Regions from separate parts of the Homo sapiens genome. Here all the other regions are linked to region 5. Evidence: promoter capture Hi-C in 16 types of primary human blood cells and fetal thymus (Javierre and others, 2016). All regions are on one chromosome and are shown on one strand. Each heading gives the region's core, a stretch centred on a gene start or on the middle of the fragment in contact. The rest is flanking DNA. Distances are from core to core; before and after follow the strand shown.

Region 1 (3,230 bases), core at 205-2,704, 2.0 Mb before region 5:
TCATGCAAACTTTTTTTGCTTTTTAAAAAGCTTCTTCAGATTCTGAAGTTTAAATCTTGTCCCCATTCTGAAGCTCAGAGTAGATCAGAAAAAAATGACTTGGTTTCATGAAGATGTCATGCATATTAACATACATTTTCTATTTCCTAACAATTATTTGACATGGATTTCATGTGGACTTTTCAAGTGATTTGCCTTAAAATATTACCTAAATTATTAACTCAAAATTTCAATTGCATATACAACATTCTAAATTCATCTCCAATTTTTCCCTTCAGGATTCATTATTATACTTTTATTTATTAGCAAAGAGATACATTTTTTGAGTAACTTCCCTAATCAAACATTTTAAAAGTACACAGATACACCCCAAAGAGCCTGTAGCTTTAGTCTGATCTCTAAAAATTGCAGATAAGCCTCTATATAGAAGATAGTTGAAATGTATTTATTATAAATTCAAGGGACAAGATTATTCATGATTTCCTAGCTGTATGGTACTAGATGAAATCATTCATAATTCGGGCAAGTTAACACTTCGTTCCTATTAACATGTGGAGATCTAGATAACAGTCAAGATCAAACCAACAGAATTTCATTCAAATTTGGAGAGTTGGAGAGAACCAAAAGTTTGTTCTAGGAAGCAATAAAAAAAATGAGGTTTGGTTAAATTCTAAGATCAATAAATTAGTATGATTTATTTGAAGCTGAAGGTTATGAAAAGTCCATTTTCAAAACACTGGTTGATTGTGTTTCTGAACCAAAAAGCCAACAAATATTTACTGAGTGTCTACTATCTCCATGGCCCTATTAGGTGCTAGTGATGGATACAAAAAAATATATAAAATATGATTGGTGATTACCCACATGAAGCTTTCAATCATGTTAGAAAGGAAGAAAAAGACACTTATGCATAAAAAGTTACAATATCAACTGGTGTTTTGCAAATTAGTTCATATTTACTTTGTTCTTATTCTCTTTTAAAATTCTCAGGAAGCTACATGTAATTTCTAGAAAAGGTGATAATTTAAACAATGTTTAAAATTTAGTAGAAAGAATTAGGCCAAAATAAATATTTAAGTGTAAAATTCAAACAATTGTTAAAAATGTATTTTACAGGCAGAACAAACAAGGGAAATTATATTTATTAAAACTCAGATGATTAGAAAAGCAACCAGCGGAGCTGGATAAAAGAAAGTTTAATATAAAACTCTTGGAGGACAACAGCCTTGGTGCAATGAAAGGTGTCCAGACCCAGGAGGGCTTCCATCAGAGCACTTCCTTTCTTTCCGGACCCTGCAGAGTACAAAATCCTCGTAGGTGCATCCTTAATTATTTCTTCACATAACACAGAAGCATGAGCCAGCTTTAAAATTCTAGCTAAAGAATAGGGCCTTGGGCATCAAATACATGCACACATAAGGAAGTTCTTTCATACTTAGGAAAGTAGAGACTGAACTATTGTGCAAGCAGAAAGGGTAAGAAGCCAGGAGAGGCCCCAGAGTATACCATTCACTATGTGTGCAGTAATTTCTGTAAGAAGGTAGTGACATGCTTGTCTGCCTCACAGATTACCCGCCCAGAAAGCCTATGTTAAAGAAAGGAAAAAAAAAAAAAAAAAAAAAGTTGACCAAAAAGTACTAGTAGAGCATAGTCTCTTATAAAAAAATATTTTTATAAATAAAAAGAAGTGCACTTTTATGAGCAAGGTCACATTTACCTTCAGGAAACTGTCATGTTTGGGAGTTGGGTGTGGAGATGGAGCAGCTTGTGTTTGGGGTAGACAAAGAATGCATTACCTGTAAGGCAGGTAAATTATCAAGTGGGAATCACTTACCTCCTGTTAGAACTACAGGAGATGTTGAAAACTATTTACTTACTAAATAAACAAGCAAATAAAATGAAGATGAGGGGTTAATAGAACTCAATTCAGGACACAAAAACAGTGCAGAAAATCATGAAGATCAACAGAAATATTATTGCTACTGAAGAACAAATGATTTGAGGAATAGATGGGGACAGATTGCAAAGGTCAAGAAGTTTAAGCTTTTGGACTTGAATCAATGAGCAATGGAAGGTCCATTAAAGCTTGAGAGGCCAGGAAGGCTAAGGATAGGGCCAGCTGGAGAATATGAATCAAATTCCGATTCAGGAAGATTTATCTGGTAAGCTTGTGACATAACAAAAATTAAATGTTTGGTCTCTGCCCCTGGCTTCTGGCATACAGTGTCTAAAACCTTTGTAATTTCCTGACCAGTAGGGGTGCTGGATGTATCTTTTGTCCTAATATTTGGTCTTTGACCCGGTTCCTGACACAGAGCTTCTATCCTTTAGGATTTTTTGGTTGATAGGAGCATCATTTATTATAATGAGGCAATTTTTGTGGGCTCCTAGATATGGGCTGATCACCAGAAACACCAAACTATAATTAGAAGCTTGAAACATTCAGCTCTTGCACCCGAACCTCTGGGAAGAAGAGAAGGGCTGGAGATTAAAAATCAAACATGCCTATGTGATGAAGTCGACATAGAAATCACTAAACTATGGGGTTCAGAGAGCTTACATGTTGGAGAACACATCTGCCTGCTGGGAGAGTGTGGCACAGAGGCTTCTATGTTTGGGGCCCTTCCAGACCTTGACCTAAATATCTCTTCCTCTGGCTGTTTAACTGTATCCTTAAAATACCCTTTGCAATAAATTAACACTAGTAAGTAAACTGTTTTCCTGGGTTCTGTGAAATGATGCTCTGGCAAATTATCAAATCTGAGGAGAGGGTCATGGGAACATCCAATTTGTAGCCAAGTCAGATAGAAGTCGTAGGTAACCTGGGGACTTACTAACTGCAGTTGGCACCTGAAGAGTAGAAGAAAGTCTTGTGAAACTGAGTTCGTAAACCATAGGGTCTGTGCTAACTCTGGTTGGTGTCAGAATTGAATTGGATTATAAGACATAGAGTTGGTGTCTGCAGAGAATTGGAGAATTGCTCGGTGTGGGGAAAATCCCACATTTGGTCACTGATGCATGGAGTGTGAATATAGAGAAAAACAGTTGTTTTTTTCCTATACAAAGGTGTATAGCTCAAATCAAAGCAATGAGAAACCAGAATCAAGAAAGTCAATTAAGAGACTACTATAACAACACAGATACAATGTTATTAGGAGACACAAAATTTTAAGAAGAGAGAAAAATTTCCTGGAGATGAAAAGAAACTATTACGTTGTGGGTAATATGAT
Region 2 (2,966 bases), core at 176-2,675, 1.9 Mb before region 5:
TTTTTCTAAGAAGCTTTTACATATAATTTGAATTTTCAAATGCACAATTTTTCCACCAATAGCCTTTATATCAATTACTTCACTTTATTAACTTATTGCATTCCCTCGAATCTCCCAATGTTGCAGTGGTAATAACAGGTATCCCTGTGTAATATCTGATTTTAATTGAAATACTTTTCTTGTTTAACAACTCAGAATAATCACTAGATATTGGATTTGGGGAAACCAATATCTTATTTATGCAGTTTCCTTCTTATTTCACTTATATTTTTGTTAGAAATGGCTATTTGATTGTCTGAAATACTTATTAGCATTTAATGGTTTAGTCATATGGTTCCCTTTAAACAAAATTATGTAATAAATGATGTTGATTGATTTCCAGATATTGAACCATCCTTGTATTCTTAAAATAAAATCTACTTAGTTTTCAATATATTTCTAGATTCTATTTGTAAATATTTTCTTTAGAATTTTTGCATCTATATTTGCAAACTATATTTTATATTTTTCTTTTTATAGTATATTTGTCAGCTTTAACATTGTTGCTATTTTATTAGGCCATTCTTACATTACTGTAAAATACCTGAGACTGGGTAATTTATAAGAAAATATGTTTAATTGACTCATGGTACTGCAGGCTGTACAGGAAGCATGGTTCTGGCATCTGCTTGGCTTTTAGGGAGGTCTCAGGAAGTTTATAATATGGCGGAAGATGAAGGGGAGCAGGCGCATCACATGGCAAAAGTGGGAGCAAGAGAGAGAAAGTGGGGTGGAGGGGAGGTGCCACACAGTTTTAAATAACCAGATCTCATGAGGACTCACTATCATGAAGCTAGGACCAAGTCGGGGGGATCTGCCCACATAATCCAAACAGCTCCCACCAGGACCCACCTCCAGCATTGGGGATTATAATTCAACATAAGATTTGGGCGGGGACAAATGTCCAAACTATATGTTATACTAGCTTTAAAAATGAATTAGAAAGATTTCCACTTTCTTCTCATTACTTGGAAGAATTTAAGAATCTTTGAAATTTTATTTTCTGTAAAGGTCAGAAAGAACTTATTTGTGAAACTGGTTTTGTTGCCTTTCTACATGGCAAATCTTTTTATTGCTTCTATTATATTTATTTGGGTCATTCCATTTTTTTCACTTTTTCTTGAATCAATCTTGGTCATTTACATTTTGTTAAGAGATCAACATCTTTGGCTTTTAAAGTTTTGAATATTAATTTGTATTTAGTAATGTATAATTAATTAAGTTTATTCTGCACTTAGAGTTATGTCTCCTTTCTCAATTTTATTTTCACTTTTTGTTTCATTTTGTTTTTCACTTTTAATAACAGTCAAATAATTTATTTGATAGTCTTGAAATAAATATTTTTTGATATGTTGGTCTTTTCTATTAATTTTTAAAGTGTTTAAAATTAATTTCACCTTAATATTACTAATTCTCTTTCTCTAAATTCTTTTGTTCTTTTTTGTTGTTATTCTGCACATTTCTTAAGATGGTCACTATCTCTTACTCTTTAATTGTTTTTATTAACAATAAAGGCATTTAAGGCTGTAAATTGTCTTCTTGGTAAATTTTGCTATTTACCATAACTTGATATGAGACATACTGCTTTTAATTACATTATGGTGAGCTTGTAATTTCAGTTTTGTTTTTCCCTTTGATTTATACATTAATTTAATGCTTTTCATTAACCAGAATGCCACAATAAGAGCATATTAGTATATTATATAAATGGCACCAGGTATTACAGCTATTTTTCAAATTCATTCTTGAATCAAAACTTCAAACAATGGTATAATAATTATGTTTGGGAGCCACCCAAATGTTACCACAAAAACAAAAGTGCATAAACATAGCTGGAAATGAATGAAAGCACTGTGCAAAGTTCCATATGTGCTTCAGCATTCCATGAGTCTCCTTTAAAATAAAGAAAATAAACCATCTATGAATATATTTTGGCAACAGGAATATGTAGTATGTTTTAAGATTCCCACTACACATCAGCATCTCCTAATGCATCCAATTAATCAGGAAAATAGTTACTCCTCACGGCAACCAGTTACCTATTTATTGGCTGTGGGAAGGCAAAGTAACAATGCAAAAAGTGGCATGAATCTTATTTTCCCAAAAATGGGAAGAGAAAAATGGTTCTCAAAAGTTATCTGGATCTGCACAACTACTACTGAGTATCTTCTGATATTATTTCATCCCAAGTTTCTCTTTACTAATAAGGATTCTAGACAACTAGCTCCTCTACTGTTCTGAGTGTTAAGTGGGCAGTACCAATCAGATGAAATGAAGAGCTATCTCACATGGAAGGAAGAGGACAAAACAACAACTACTCAGTATGATTGCTCAGTGCTTCTCTACAGAGGAACAGGCAAAGAGTATACAGGGTTGGGTCTTGGCAGGAGCATAGCATAGGTAACCCCTATTAGAATAATCCCAACCCAAGTGCCTCTTTAATTTTTCCTACTCTTCTAGGTAAGTTCACACATTCAATTACTTATTGAATATGTACCTATTATGTGCCAGGCACTAGTCTAAGCTGTGAGGATTTGATTAAAAGATATAGCTCTTGTCCTTAAAGGTCTTTAAGTATTTTTAAAAAGAAGACAGGAAAAAAAAACACAAATTATGGCATAATAAGAACACTGTTATAACTGAATAGAAAAGTTTAGTGGGAACAGAACAGAAGGAGCATTTATGGGCCCAGTGCATAATCAGGACTCAATAAAATTGAACAAAAACAAAAGTGAATGAGTAAATGAATTAAAGACCTTCAATGATAATGAAGGTTTCATAGGAAAAAACTTTTGAATTGAAGCTTATAAAAGCAAGAATTTTCTGGAAATGCAGGAGGAGAGGGTCCTAGATAGAAGGAAAGGCAGATGCAACTTCAGAGGGTAAAAATCATGGCACAGTAAGGGAGCTTTGCATAATTTAAATGG
Region 3 (2,836 bases), core at 294-2,793, 1.8 Mb before region 5:
CAGGAGAAAAGTAGGAAAATTCAAATTCACCAATTGTTACCTTCACTGGAACCTCTAGTGAGAAGTTAAATAAACACACCAGGAAATTTCAGTAGGGGTGTTAACAAAAAAGGGGATTTTCCTGGAAGTTTAACGGGTCCATTTGGAACCCCCTAATAGCAGGAGGGAGGGTTGCTAAAATGCTAGATGAAATGCTTTCACCATGTGGTTCACACCCCAAGAACAGTCTTCTGGCTTGAGCATGCTGATAAAAAGTCTTACAATCATATCAAGATTTAAATTATTTATAATTTCTCTGACCATATTGCAATTGAAAAGTCAAGAGCATATGGCACATTTTTCAAGAAATCCTTTTCATTTGGCTCCTGTTGATATAATACACCAGGGGAATTTGACATTCCTTGCTGATCTTGAAGGAATCCTTTATAAATTTAATACTGGAGGATGATTTGGTAAGTTTTTCTTCTTTTTGCTTTGCTATTTCACTTGCTTCACAACCTCCCCTGCCCAAATTAGGTTAGTATTTTGAATTATGATACAGTCAAGGCAGGAAAATTTCATTTGAATTTATGGTATTTTTCATTCTGTGTGACACATGGAAGTGAAATTACTGGGGAATGTGGTAAGTATCCATGAAATTCTATAAATACATATCAGTGAGGAAAAACTCTAACAGCTATCTCAAATGTGATGGTGGAGTTCAAACTGGCCTGAAGGATAGTGGCTAGCTAACACTCAATAAAATGAATTTGCAGTCATATATGCCCTTTTGCATTTCTGGTTATGAAGATGTTTATAACAGAACAAACTTCTCATGGCAAAAGATAAATTACATTTGTAAAATCTAAGAAACAAAGAGATGTGTATGACTCACGTAGTGATTGTACAACATGAAGCAGAACTGGCAACCAGTTTTTGCCAGTGTGATTGAACAATCGCTATGACTTCTTAATTTTATCTTTGACTTCTAAGAAATACTGGTTTCTATAGCAGTAGTGTATTCTAGTAGTGTTATTGACCAGATCAGAGCACTCAGACCTCTTGTGTAATTTAAGTGCACTACTATGCTCTTTGGAGTAAGTCACAATTTTCTTTCCTAAGGTCTATTTTCTTATATAGAAAGGGGATAGGCTCTGATGTACACTCCTCTTTTTTAAAAGTGAAATAAGATATGTATGAAAGCTGTCTAAAGAGCAGAGATGTCATTCTTAACAAATCATGTAATACTTTGTTTTCTGCTCTGGTGGACTATATAGTAATGATGGAGATGACTAACGATTGAGATGTAGATTGCAGATATCACATGTATCCAAACCTCTGGAACTGGAAGTGTGACAAATACACAATGGCAATGATAATTTAAGCCTGGTATAGTCAACAATTTAGTCTTCTGTATTTGGAAGACATGTTTGTGTACAGAATTTTCACCAGAAAGTTTTTATAGCAAACTTTTTATGTCAGAAGTTTATTTTATTGGTAAAATATTAAATAATATACAGAATTAAAAACTGCACTTACACTTCTGAGAAGAAATAAATCTTGGACAAATTATATGCTTGTTCCTGAGATTCCCTAAATTTATTCCAGTAGCTGTGCACTCAGACAGTACAAACCTTTATAATATAATCCTTTTCACAAAGTATTACAAAGTTTCTGCAGCTTCTTTAGTTGTACACACATACAGACACACACTCACACATGCATATACAACACTCATACACATATACACAGTAACCACATACATGCACAGAACATGTATGTGTGTGCATTAAAAACAAAGAAGATACAAGTCCCACATTTTAGTCTGCAGTGATAAAACTATTTAGCGGAGGTCTCCAAATCAGTATGTAGTAGAGTGACTTGTCACACAGCTGCAAAGACTGTTTCAGTATTTCCATAGTAAACCTCATTTTCTGAGGTATGGTATTTGAGCCTTAAAAAAACTACATTACACTTAGCAAACCTGACATACAAGGTATGGAATTTTAACTTTACATATATATTTATATATATATATATATATTTCTTTTTTAAACAATAGTTTTTATTTCCCCAAATTATTAGTTTGAAAAAAAATGAGGTTTACTGGTTTGACCTATTTTTTTTTCTTTTTTTGCTTCTAAAACACAAAATACCCTAGAAACTGTCAAGCAATTAGTCTTTAAAATAGTCTAATTACCTTTGGTATTGTTAAAGAAAGAATATCTAAAATGGCCAAGACACATACTGTACAAATGCAGAAATGCAGTAACTGCCTTTAAAAGAAATGCCAAAGAAATGTTATCTTTTAACAAAACATGTATTTATATTACAGCAGTTTTACTACAGGGACACAGGTATAAAAAAAGAAAATTAGCACACTACATATAAATATGTATAAGAAAAATACCTCTTACTTAAATTTGTATGAAAACAGGACTGCTCCAAATATTTTTAAAAAAAATTTCTCCAATAGGTGATATGTAAGTGTTTAAAACTCAGCTAAGTGCTTTGCTTTTATTTAAAAGTTTATTTCTAAAAGGGGAGAAGTAAAATAAAAATATTAAGTATTAGGTTCTTAATTTAGAGCATTGGGCGAGGGTCTAAGAAGATTCAATCTGTAAAAAGTTCAACTTTAGGACACATTTTTCAAGCAAAAGATTACTAATTTCCATGGAAATTTAGCTTAAATAAAGATACCATGAGATCAGACTAGTGGTTTCCACATTCTGTAATCTTTTGATTGTGGAGTGTTTTTCTCTTTGCTTGTTGTGTCCTTTAACATACTATGACTTTTATGAGTTTCTTTTTGTCATTAGCTAAAGGAAGAATAGGTCAGAAAAGAAAAAAAAATCAC
Region 4 (2,819 bases), core at 138-2,637, 1.8 Mb before region 5:
TTTGACCTTATATTTGAGGTTATAACCAAGATAAAAACATAATTCCATTAGATCACTGTTTCATCACGTTGATAACCATAACGGCAAAACCATAAGTGTATTCCCAATGTATTCTTTTGAAAAACCAAACAGTTCACCCAAATTCAAATTCCAAGTCTGAGGGACCTAGGTTAGATCACATGTCTAGCTCCTGAGCAGGAGAGGGCAGAGTACCTGGACTGAGGGTCCCACCACAGCTACATGCAACAGGAAAGTTCTCTAAAGGTAAATGGGCACTCTTGTTATCAAGAGAAGGAGGAAGGGATGTCAGGCAGGCAAAAACAACAGATGTCTTCTATATTGTTGCAAATTTTCTCCGTGTTACCCGATCTAAAAAAAAAACTTTACAGTTATCTTAGTTATTTTCTTGACAGCATTTGGCAGTGCTGACACTTGCTTTGGCTTCTGTGAAATCACTCTTTCCATGTTCCTACTCTGCTCTTACTCATCTTCATGAAATTTTTTTCCTGCTAGTGTGTTCTTGGCCTTCTTGATGTCTCACTCTGTACTTATCCGTATTGCCTTATTAAAAACTACTACGTTGGGCCACTACATAAATTATGATGGATCCTGCATCTTTGTTTCCTACTCAGACCCCTCTCAAGAGCTTGAGATCTATATATTTAACATCTTCCTAGACAGTTTTATTTGCCTATTTCATGGAGACATAAAAGAATATAGTAAAAGAAGTAAAATCTCCATTTACCTTTCTTTCTTCTATTTTCCTAATTACCATATCACTGAATGACACTACTAATTACCATATCACTGAATGACACTACTATTTACTCCATCAGCCATGCTGGTCACCTGTGGAAAATCCTAGATTTCTTCCTTTCATCCAGTCTTCTGCCTCTCCTCCTCCCTACCACATCTCTTTACAAACACACATGGAGGTACCCCAAGTGTTTTAGATGCTACATTGGTAGTTGTTCACATATGTTGTTCTTTCTGCAGGAAACACCCTTCTCCATTTATTAGTTCACATTTTTGCTTTTTAAAACTAAGCTCAATCCCGGGAAATTCCTCTTGGATGTTCTGCTGATTTAGGTATGTCCTCTCTGTCTCCATAATGCTTATCACATAGTACTATAATTGTTGTTTTACTGGTCTATCTTCCAATAGCTGGTAAATAACCTCAGGGGTTGCATTCTGTTGTATTTGTGTCTCTAATACCTTTTATGATACAAGAGAGATATAATATTCAATGGATGTTCACTGAATGATGTCACCCAATAGAAATAAGTCAAAAAAGCTTATTCCAAAGTTTGGGGGTGCCCAATAATGCCTCTATACTGTGAAAAAGAACCTCCCTTTCCTAAACAATTCAAAGCATAAACCTAACAATATATATAGATTTTAAGCTGGCTATCCTTCTGCTTTGCACTTTCATTTTTGTCTTTAGGTTTAGGTAAAACAGGTAATAACATAGTTTGATTTTAAAGCTTTTCCTTCAAGCTAAGCAGACTTGAAAAAGCAACATAAAGATAATATTGAACAAGATAATCTGCCATAAAACCTAATTAAATAAGATAAATAATCTGCCCTAAAACCCAATAAAATAAATAAGCTCATCAAACCCAATTAAATAATTTAATTATATAAATAATCTGTCATAAAACTCAATTATTATTTCCAAAACTATGAGTCATGATATTCCTCCTTTTTCCTCAAACTCAATCAACTTTTCTAAGACCATTTTATTCTACCTCCTAAATATGTCTTCAATATTTCACCTTGTTCTCTTCTGCAGTTGCCTCTTCATCTTTTTCTTTTTGGCATTGTCATTTCCAGTCTCTCCTCACACCATACCCCCTGCCCCAGGTAGGCATTTATCATGTATCCTCATTGGAGACATTTTTCTTGATTTGATTACCTCATTAATAACAAATTTGGTTACCCTAGTGGCCCCCCATCAGTTACACAATGAAATTCAAACACTAGCTTAGCAGAGAAGACTCTGTCTTTGCATCACAACCTACTAATTCAGAAGCTTCATTTCCTACCACTCCTTAAACTGCAGTTACACTCAACATCAGGGAAGCTGTTAATTATCTTTTATATCTCCAAGCCTCTTTTTCTCCTTGAATATACATTCTCTGTATCCTGCCTGATATATGCAATTTTTACTCATCCCTCATGTTTGGATTGAACACTCCTGCATGTAAGAAGCCTCTCTTGACTTTTCCAGAGTTAGGTTAATTCTACATCTATGTTCCCAGAGAACTGTGTATGCATCCTTATTAGAGCTTTTGTTTCATTTTATTTTATTTTTTTAAAGTATGTATTTCCTACCAGACTATAAAGTAAGTGTATTAAAAGACTGGGTCCATTTATTTTTATACCCCAGAATGTTCTATATAACTTGGCACATAGTAAGCTCTTGATAAATGTTTTCTGAGTAAAGTGAAAATGCCTCTTTTCCTTTAAAAAATTCCATACTAGAAGAACAACACAGGGAAAAACATGTTTTAGAAAAGAAAGACTAGGAAATATAACTATGTCAGATATTTTTTAAAAACAAGTAATAGTTAAATCATTTCATGGAGCTAATGGCAACCAAAATGACAGCAACTCTCATATCTACCACAAAAAAGGAAAACAAATAAATAACATACAGCAAGAGAAGGGAATAGATATAAGTTTCATCATGGTTCTGTTTAAAAAGAGACATATGCCAAGCTATTTATATGAGACGTATGTTAATGATGAACTCTAGCAGCATTTTACAGAACCATGTTTTTCTCTTACAGTATTTATCAACTCCTACCTCGTATGGC
Region 5 (3,026 bases), core at 312-2,811:
AAGTTTGGCCGGGCACCGTGGCTCACGCCTGTAATCCCAGCACTTTGGGAGGCAGAGGCGGGCGGATCACGAGGTCAGGAGACGGAGACCATCCTGGCTAACACGGTGAAACCCCATCTGTACTAAAAATACAAAAAATTAGCCGGGCATGATGGCGGGCGCCTGCAGTCCCAGCTACTTGGGAGGCTGAAGCAGGAGAATGGCGTGAACCCGGGAGGCGGAGCTTGCAGTGAGACAAGATCGTGCCACTGCACTCCAGCCTGGGCGACAGAGCGAGACTCCGTCTCAAAAAAGGAAAGAAAAGAAAAAGTTGTGTTACTTATACTTTATGCAACTAGGTAACTTAAGTTCTGCAAGTTAGAAATCAAAGGGGAAAAAAGTCCAAAAAGGATATAAACTTTTGACAGCTACAAATAACAAAAAAACTGCCAGTGATCTTCATACAGAAATACTTAGCTGTACACACAGCAAGTGCTCAATAAAAATGCTTTTCAGAAGAAATGAAAATGAGACAAACCTTTCTTGGGTTTTACAAACCTTCTTGGTTTGTATACTAGAAAGAGCTACACGAAAAAAAGCAAGAAGTAACACTCATGAAAATGTCTTTGGACGGAATGAAAACCCTGAGAGGACTCCCATAATGTGACAGCATGAAGGAAAACAATAAACAGCATCACTAAGAGCGGGGACACCAGACATACAGTCTTTTGAGCAAACTAAGAAAATGAGAAATTCCGTGCCATCTTCAATCTACAACTATGGTAGATATCCGATGCTCCATCCCATCTCACTCGAAAAAGCTGGCACGGAGAAAATGTCAAAAAGGCCAGTTTAACTTAGAGTGGCAGCTGCTTCTAATTTAGAGGGTCTCCGGGGCGGCCCGCCAGCCCAATTCGCCACAGCTCCCGGAAAGCAGCGGGGTAATCCAGGGCCGGGTAAAAAATGCAGAAGCCTCAGCCCCACCCCAGCCCGATTCAAACTCTGGAGGCGCGACCGGGATGAACATTTTTTTAGCCACACCTCCAGACGGTTCTTCAGCCCGCTGAAGTTCAAAAACTACCGTTTCAGTTGGATTCAGGGCAAGGGGAGGCCGGTAAGTCGCCCAAAAATAAAGTGAATGAGAAGCAGAAGTTGTTAATACTATATCCCCCGGCAGGTGCTAACCGCACGCCGACCCGACTGCAGCGCGGGAACGGAAGGAGGAAACGGAAGATTTGAAAAGATTCTGCCGCCCCCAGAAACTGTGCGACCCGTGCCCTCGCAGCCACCCCCAAGAAGCTCCGTCTTTACCAACGCGAGCAGCGCAGCAGCTTCTCCAGGCGGTCGAGCGCGGCGCGACTGTGGGCCCAGGCACCGCGACCATCCGGTTCCATGGCGGGCGCGGAACGAGGCTCGTTCCCGGAGCGGATCCTCGGCTGCCGGTTCCTCGGCTGCCGATTATCCGGCATCGTCCCGCCTTCGGATGAAAGGCTCCTCGCAGAGCGGGAAGCAAGGAAGCCTCGGGAAACCACAGGGAAGCTGCAGGCCAGCGACTCGAAACCGGCCAAGCTCTTCCCGCGTCTGGGACGGCGGGCCGCCAGAGGGGCGGGGCGCGCGGGGAGGGGCGGGGCACGGCGGCCGCAATGCTCCCAAAATAGGGACTCGCAGGGCACAGGGGCGGGGCCGCGAGAGCCAGCCGCTGGCCGAGTGGGCGGGACCTAGGGGTGGGGCTGGAGGCTGAAACTTGCCAAAGTCCCGGCGTGTGGGACTTAGGGGAGGGGCCGCGAGAGCCGTGGGACCGAGGGGGCGGGGCCGGACGGCTGAAACTTGCCAAAGTCCCGGCGCGCGGGTCCTAGGGGCGGAGCCGCGAGAACACGCCGGGGACAGAGGGGGCGGGGCCTAGGAGCCTCGGGGCGGGACAGGACGGTCGAAACCGAAGTCCTGGCGCGCGGGGCCCAGGGGCGGGGCCTAGGGGCCTCGGGGCAGGACAGGACGGCTGAAACCGAGGTCCCGGCGCGCGGGGCCCAGGCGCCGTGCAGTGAGAGCACGCCGCTTGACCGAAGGGGCGGGGCCTGAAGGCTGAGCGCAGTCGCGAGGCTGTAGTTGGCAGGAGAGCGGGCGGGGCCTGAAGCCCCTCTGGGCTGCCTGGACGGATGAAGTCCAGGTGGAAAGCCAGTCGACGTTTCCCGGGAGCTACGACTCCAGGGACCCTCATCCGAGCTTAACCGTTGGAACAATCACAAACCCAGAAACTTTTAGCTGAGTGTTATTTATAAAAAGCGCTGTTTTGACTGCTGTTGGACTTGGAAAAGCTTTGCCCACGATACTGAAGGTACCACTCTTTGTTCCTAAGAAAGCAACCTTTTCTTTCCTCTCACCTCAGCTGTGGCGTATATTGTAACTGAGTAAAAATAAGGAAAGTTTCTAATTCTAACTAGTTAACAAATATCAGCTCAAAGGCATGTCTGAAAAGATCTGGTTTACTTTTAAAATATTGGTATAAAATTTCAAAAAGGGTTTTTTTTGTTAGAGAGTGTGTCCACCTTCCTCCTCCAGATCTTTCACTGATCGCCGTAATTTACAGATAAGACCTACAGAGCAACCCGTCATGCCTTCCTGCCGCGCCCCAAGTTCATTTCCAAGTCCTTGCATTTTTTCCCCCTAACTTGTCTCGAATGCACCCATTTTCTCTCCGTCTCTGCTCCACAACATCCCCAGTTGCCTCGTCCTCGCCTGGTTTCCTGTCGTAGCTTTCTAGCTGATATCCAAGTGTCTATCCAGGTCCCAGCCAGTCCCGAGACTGCGGTGTGGCCGCCTAAAACATTTCCAAACACAAAACTCATCGTGGCACTTCCCTTTCTTAAAACTCCTTAAAGTTTTTCTCTGCTCTTTGACTAGCCTCTTGTCAAAACCTCCTCTGGCCATCATGGTCCCAACCCCACAGTGCGTTCCCTTAGGTCATTAAAAGCCCCTGCACCTTGCTGCCTCATGGCTTTTGCGCAAAGATTCACTTTGGAACCTGGAATTGGCCTCCTCTCCATTCCTCA
Region 6 (2,814 bases), core at 260-2,759, 1.8 Mb before region 5:
CACCCATTAGTATCTAAGGAAATCCCTCATACACAGTTAAGCATGTCATATGTATTTATAAATTAAATTCAGTGACACTATTTTCCCAATATTGATAATATTTTGACAGTTAAGCAATTGGTCTCTAAGGGTCAATTAGAAATCTAATTTGCAAGAAGAAAATGAAAAATGAAAAGAAGCCGTATAATTCTGGATTCGATCTTTTTTAGGCTAAGAAAATAAAATGGAAGACCCGAATCAAAACAGGGTATCTATCAGATCATTTTCTGATGTGTAATGTAGACTTAGTTTTAAATGCTAAAAAGTAAAAGTTACACCTTATATTAGTAGAATGGTTTTCTTACAAGAAGCTCAAACTCTTTTGAAAAGACTCCCATATTTTCAAGGACATGCAGGTTCAAGTGCAAGAGTGTTTGTGGGATAAAGGTGTCATAAACCAGATCGTGGTGTTTACAACACCAGCAAGCACCCTGTGTAATCTCACACCATTCAACTTAATAGCTGCTTCAAAATATAGGACAATAGAGTTTCCTAGGATTCTCACATACAGAAGGAACCTAGCTTATTTTTCTTTTTCCCACTTCATGTATAAGGAACAAGGGTCAAGGAAGGCTAACCTCACACAGCAAGCTAGTCCAAACATAGCAGTTACATTGCCTGACTGCTCAAGGTCTATATTGCATTAACTTTCACCTGCTCAGGAAAGACAAGTGCAATACTTTGTTTGGATGAAAGCAAAAAAATTCGGGTATCCAAACCAAACAGCTTAGGTGAGAAGATGATTCAGCTTATTCAGATCTAGGCAAACAAATGAGAAAAAATAAAAGGAGGGGAAAAAAAAAAACCCTTACAAAACCTACCATTCCTCAGAAAACCTAATCCCACAACCAAAAAAAAAAAACATAACATTTTTAATTTTTAGGAAAAGATATATGTGGCAGTATAGCGTAGAAAGAGTAAAAGTTGGAAAAGAGAGATTTAGAAATATACCGAGTTACATGTAATGCACACAATGTGATTTCTGATAATTTTGGAAAGATATTTTGAATTGACTTTAAAGGGAATGGAGAGGGATGTGAGAGAGTGAACTTGTTCATTTAAGCATGTTTTTCCCCCAGTCCTTACTGCTCATCTGAAAACAAGAAGTAGAGCAGGTCAGGAAAGGGGTTATGGTTAACACTGCAAGATGAAAGATAAGCAGCCAGGCAGTTAGAAGCCAAGGCATTTTATCTAGAAGAGCAGGTCTGGCCTTGTTTCTATCTTGATAAGAATTAGATTGGAGAGCTTGTTTGTCTATAGACTAGGATGGGGTGGAGGGGTGTCGGGGCTGAAGGAAGGGGACAGGGAAGTCAGGGGCTGAGTTATGGAGTAGTGGCAAACCACTAATGTAGTGATAATTCCCTCTTCTATGTTCTATGTCTACCTGAACTTTGAAATTGCTAGACTTGTCTATTTAGATAACATGGCTGTGTTTCTTTCAAATATGGAGACTTAAATATCTAGAAAGTTTAGGTGACCTGAACAGGCTAATTGCCTAAGTCTAAAATTTCAGGACAATAGCTAACTGGATGGGCTATTAACAGAGAACTTGAAAGAAATGACATTTTAATTTAAGCAGCTCTTTAAATGGTGTGTTTATCTTTATTCTGAAGCATATGCACGATATACTCTGACTTGCTTTTTAAAGTTGTGTTTTCATTTCAAGTTTTTAAAAATACATTACAATTATAGCAGCTTCCACTTTCTTACTGCTCTGATTTGATGATACAACTGATTTAGAATTATGTTTTACAATATAATTATTAAAATTTGTAAAGTCCTAAGTTCACCAAAATTTGTTCTGATTATGGCCATGACTGTAAAAACAGCAGGTTTCCCTGGGATTTTATTTGCTTTTACCCTTAGAATTTTAGTCCATAATAGAACCAAGAAATCAGAATTTCAAAATGAAACGGGTTATCTTTTTAAAAAAATAAGCCTATAAAATTATTTGTAGCTATTTGAAATGATTCTTAATCATGGTAGGTTTATGTTGCTCATGACCTTAGTTGTTCAAGTAGAGTTTGTTGAATACACAAGATGATTAGCAGAGGAGGAAGCATTATAGGATTAATATAGTTCATAAACCTTTAGGGGTTTATAGCCTCTATGAGAAATAAACCAGGGCATTTTTAGCCCAAATGATTAGATACCAAAACAAATTTGTAAAAATAACAGGTGGGAAGAAAGCATCTTGAAACAATATATTTTTTCTTATTATCTTGGCCACTGTATAGATTGTCTGGTACCTTGAGTCTTATCTTCTCTGTGGTCCTGAGGCAGTCCCTATATATAATTAGCTCTGGACCTGGCCTGACCTCCAGGAGCAATGTCTAGAATGTGTTCATTACAGTGCCTGGCACATAGGAAGAGTGAATTGAGTGTTTGTTAAATGAATACAGATAAGAATAATCAAAATGCTCATTGGTGAGATTGATTAAAATAAATTATATATCCATGCACTGGGATACTATGCAACTGTGAAAATTATGTAGTTAACTATTTAATAACATGGAAAGACAATGACAGATTATTAATTAGAAAAAAGTTATAAATCATATGAGTAGAATGATTCCATATGTGAATAAACAATATGTACCTATGTATTAGATATGTATGATAATTTTTAGAAAGATACATACCAATATGCTTATATGTAAATGGTTGGATTATGAGGGGATTTTTTTTCTTTTTTTTTTTTTTTTTGAGACAGACTCTCACTCTATTGCCCAGTCTGGAGTGCAGTGGCATGATCTAGGCTCATTGCAACCTCCG
Region 7 (3,135 bases), core at 591-3,090, 1.8 Mb before region 5:
GAACACTTAGAGGCCATTGTACAGTTATTAAGTGGCCTAATTTCAGTATTTTTGCATTTCAGGAATATAGAGGCCAGGTGAGGGACAGAGGGACAGAGAAACTGGCCAGTTGGTGAAGCAGTCAGAGCTTACACAACATTTATCAACACAAAAATTCAAGTTTGCCAGCCTGTATAGGTGTGGTTCGTGGTATCCTAAAACAGTTATAATAATAACAAGAAAGATCACAGATCACAAAACAGACATAATAATGAGCAAATGTGAAATATTGCAAGAATTATTTAAATGTGACAGAGAGACATGAGGTGAGCATGTGTCATTGGAAAAATGGTATCAACCGACTTGCTTGGAATTAGGGTTACCACAAACTTTCAATTTGTAAAAAACGCAGTTATCTGTGAAGTGCAATAAAGTAAGGCACAATAAAGGAAGTTATGCTTGTATTTCCTTTCATCTGACTTTCTATATTACAAGAACTCAGGCTTATGAGTAAGCAAATAATTTGGATAGCAAACAGCTCCCAAAATAATCAATTCAGAAGCAAATAGCTTGCTCTAACTTATGGAATATTCATATAAAGAATATGTATTTGTATATCCAGAATGTGGTTTCTTACTTGGATCTCAAATTCTAACCCTAATGCCAGTTGTGTGTGAAGCCTAGGTTACGTTAAATTAGGAAATAGTTGTACCTAACTCACAGCATTTCTGTGAGTATATATTTTTTTTAATCCATATGGAAAACTCAAGGTACTTAACACACAATAAATGATCAATAAGTGGAAAATCTTTTTTTTTCCCTGTAGCAGTCAACATCTTCTAACATATTATATGATTTTTTAACTGATTCTTGCCCGTCTCCCCTTATTAAAATGTAAGCTCCACAAAGACAGTCTTGCAGTCCACAATCTCACAGAGCTTACATTCGAGTGAGGTGGGATGGCACAGACAACATGTGTATAAACTAAACACCAACATAACCACAGATTCTGATTCAAGCTTTTTATTAAGATAGAGATAGCAAAATAGAACTAAGGGGATGCTTCTGGTAGGTTGCTTATGGATGCCACTATTTTCAAAGAGATGACATTTAAACTAACATCTGAAAGATAATAAGGCAACTATGCCAAGATCTTGGGAAAACGCTGAAGGTGTTGACTTCTAGGATCATCCATTAGTTCAAAAACAGTAGGAAAGAATAAAGAAACCTCGGGTTGCAAAGAACCCAGAGTGAGGCGTAAAGTAGTAGAAGATCAGACAGTAGAAGTGGGCAGAACCACCAATGGCCATGATTAGTAGTTTGATTTTATTATAAAAGCAATGGAAAACCATTAAAATATTTTAAGAAGAGGAGTGACATGGTTTAAATCAGATTTTAAAGTAACATTCTGGTTGCTATCTGGAGAATAGATTGGGAAGCAGGAGTATAGTGGCTGAGAGCAGAGACCCTAGATTCAGACAGACCAGAGCTTATATCTCAGCTTTCATGAGTATATTGGAAGTTGGATAAAATGTAAACATATAGTTATCAAGGTATGATTTTTTTTGCTATATCAGATCATAATTTTTAAAGTACTCTCACAAATATAATTTATACTATTGTTAGATTTATTTTGTTCTAAGCTGCTATATGTCTTCAAGCCTCATGATAGATTTTTGTTTATAAGAGCATGATACAATTCTTGTTTTATTGTGCTGTGGGTGTGTATGTGTGTGTTTGAAATCTAATCCAATAATACATTGTTGCCAAACCATGGAAAATAAAAGAAAAATAAGGTGAAAGTATAATCTGTATAAGCTGAGGAGGCATACATGTAATATGTAAAATGACTGCGTGAGGACATTAGGTAACATCTCTTTCTTTAAACTTGACTCTACTTATCTGCAAAATAAGGCCCTTAACATAATGCTTGTCACAAAATAAGAACTTATTAAATATACCCATAATTTTTAATTTTTGTAATAGACTAATACTTATCATGTACTAGGAAACATACTCAACCACCATTGACCTCCATGAATCTTTAAAACCTTTCTAGTTAATATAAGAATATTCAAATAAAATAATCTGTCCATTAATTCATTCAATCAATATGGTATATAAGGGATGAAGATGCAAAATCTCTTCTTTGAGATGCTGGATCTAGGACCTTTTATTCTTATCCAGTTGCTTATAATCATTATCATCATATTTCTATACAATTTAAAAGGACTCCACTCTGATAGATTTCTGATACCTTACATAAAACTTTAATTATATTCTAAATATATTTTACATGCTTATGATGAATGATACTTGGTTTTTATCTTTCTTATTTGTCTGATTTTCTACCATTTGAGAGTTTTCTTACAGTATTTGGCAAGATAGTATAGGCTGTGGATGAACAGGTTTCTTTGACTCACATACACAGATCAAGTAGGAAAAATTGAAAGAAATGGTAAAGGTTAGGTTAGAAAAAAACATCCAAACAAAACACACCACACACACACACACACAAGTCCCAGTGTGTCATGCCCTTCTGGATACTAGGTGAGTAATAAAGTTTGCGTGCAGCCTCTCCACTTCTGTTGTGGAGTTCCAAACATGCCAGGCCTGCAGACTCATGGTGTGGAAGGGAAAATGTGAAATGGCCAAAGTTAAGACTGTCCACACTAAATCCATGCAGGGTACAAAACTGTGGTAGCAAGCTTTGGAATGAGGACAGTGTAGATTATTCAGAACAATGAGAAAGCAGCTAAGAATCTTGTCCATTTCTTTAGAACTCCTGATAATAAAGGAGGAAGGAAAGCTTCCTACAATAAATTGATCTTCTAAATGACTTGCACCAAAGTGAAAAGAGCTGCATAGAATTATAAAAGAAAGGCTTATTAATTCCTTCTAGAAATAGGGTCTGAAAGAAGCATGACTACTACAATTCATAAAAGATGTGATTGTATATGCTATTAAAAGTTTTACTTTCTTTTATTAGAAACAATAACGAAGAGTAGATACATAATGGTTATTGGTCTGGGGTAGGGGGAAAGAGGCGTTCTACCTGGTGGAAATCAAATGGGCTGTCTTACAGCCGGCCTGACTGAAAGTGGCTTTTACCTTCTAGGTAAATTTCAATGAGTAGGACCTCAAGTGTGTGTTTTA

What was found. Contacts are between HindIII fragments. The CHiCAGO score rates a contact against its expected background, and 5 or more counts as called.
Region 1: a fragment that was not itself captured here is called in contact with the fragment with the promoter of BARD1 in region 5 in 1 of 17 cell types (fetal thymus); the score reaches 5.1 in fetal thymus.
Region 2: a fragment that was not itself captured here is called in contact with the fragment with the promoter of BARD1 in region 5 in 1 of 17 cell types (fetal thymus); the score reaches 6.3 in fetal thymus.
Region 3: a contact is called between a fragment that was not itself captured here and the fragment with the promoter of BARD1 in region 5, in 1 of 17 cell types (naive B cells). The highest score is 5.9, in naive B cells.
Region 4: a fragment that was not itself captured here is called in contact with the fragment with the promoter of BARD1 in region 5 in 1 of 17 cell types (total B cells); the score reaches 8.4 in total B cells.
Region 6: a contact is called between a fragment that was not itself captured here and the fragment with the promoter of BARD1 in region 5, in 1 of 17 cell types (erythroblasts). The highest score is 5.3, in erythroblasts.
Region 7: a contact is called between a fragment that was not itself captured here and the fragment with the promoter of BARD1 in region 5, in 2 of 17 cell types (total B cells and fetal thymus). The highest score is 7.4, in total B cells.

Annotation. Positions count from the first base shown.
Region 1 is chr2:212,847,910-212,851,139 of GRCh38, forward strand. No RefSeq gene overlaps it. Among named protein-coding and RNA genes, the nearest start is that of LINC01878, 54 kb to the left of the region's middle. The HindIII fragment of the contact is 1,173 bases long and covers 869-2,041 here.
Region 2 is chr2:212,865,816-212,868,781 of GRCh38, forward strand. No RefSeq gene overlaps it. Among named protein-coding and RNA genes, the nearest start is that of MIR4776-1, 59 kb to the right of the region's middle. The HindIII fragment of the contact is 2,829 bases long and covers 12-2,840 here.
Region 3 is chr2:212,998,249-213,001,084 of GRCh38, forward strand. It overlaps IKZF2 (IKAROS family zinc finger 2), which reads right to left. Exons shown (of 9, transcript NM_001387220.1): 9 at 1,450-2,836. Among named protein-coding and RNA genes, the nearest start is that of MIR4776-2, 73 kb to the left of the region's middle. The HindIII fragment of the contact is 4,483 bases long and covers 1-2,836 here.
Region 4 is chr2:213,016,676-213,019,494 of GRCh38, forward strand. The region is part of intron 7 of IKZF2 (IKAROS family zinc finger 2); the gene reads right to left. Among named protein-coding and RNA genes, the nearest start is that of MIR4776-2, 92 kb to the left of the region's middle. The HindIII fragment of the contact is 190 bases long and covers 1,293-1,482 here.
Region 5 is chr2:214,808,122-214,811,147 of GRCh38, forward strand. It overlaps BARD1 (BRCA1 associated RING domain 1), which reads right to left and starts at 1,562. Exons shown (of 11, transcript NM_000465.4): 1 at 1,291-1,562. The coding sequence starts at 1,448. SNHG31 (small nucleolar RNA host gene 31) reads left to right here and starts at 2,108. Exons shown (of 4, transcript NR_110292.1): 1 at 2,108-2,311. RefSeq lists enhancers at 501-550, 841-920 and a silencer at 1,471-2,040. The HindIII fragment of the contact is 4,673 bases long and covers 1-2,289 here.
Region 6 is chr2:212,978,783-212,981,596 of GRCh38, forward strand. It overlaps LOC102725082 (a long non-coding RNA gene), which reads right to left. Exons shown (of 4, transcript XR_007088066.1): 1 at 1-2,814. Among named protein-coding and RNA genes, the nearest start is that of MIR4776-2, 54 kb to the left of the region's middle. RefSeq lists a silencer at 2,250-2,450. The HindIII fragment of the contact is 3,660 bases long and covers 1-2,814 here.
Region 7 is chr2:213,034,466-213,037,600 of GRCh38, forward strand. All of the region lies in intron 6 of IKZF2 (IKAROS family zinc finger 2), which reads right to left. Among named protein-coding and RNA genes, the nearest start is that of MIR4776-2, 110 kb to the left of the region's middle. The HindIII fragment of the contact is 1,689 bases long and covers 997-2,685 here.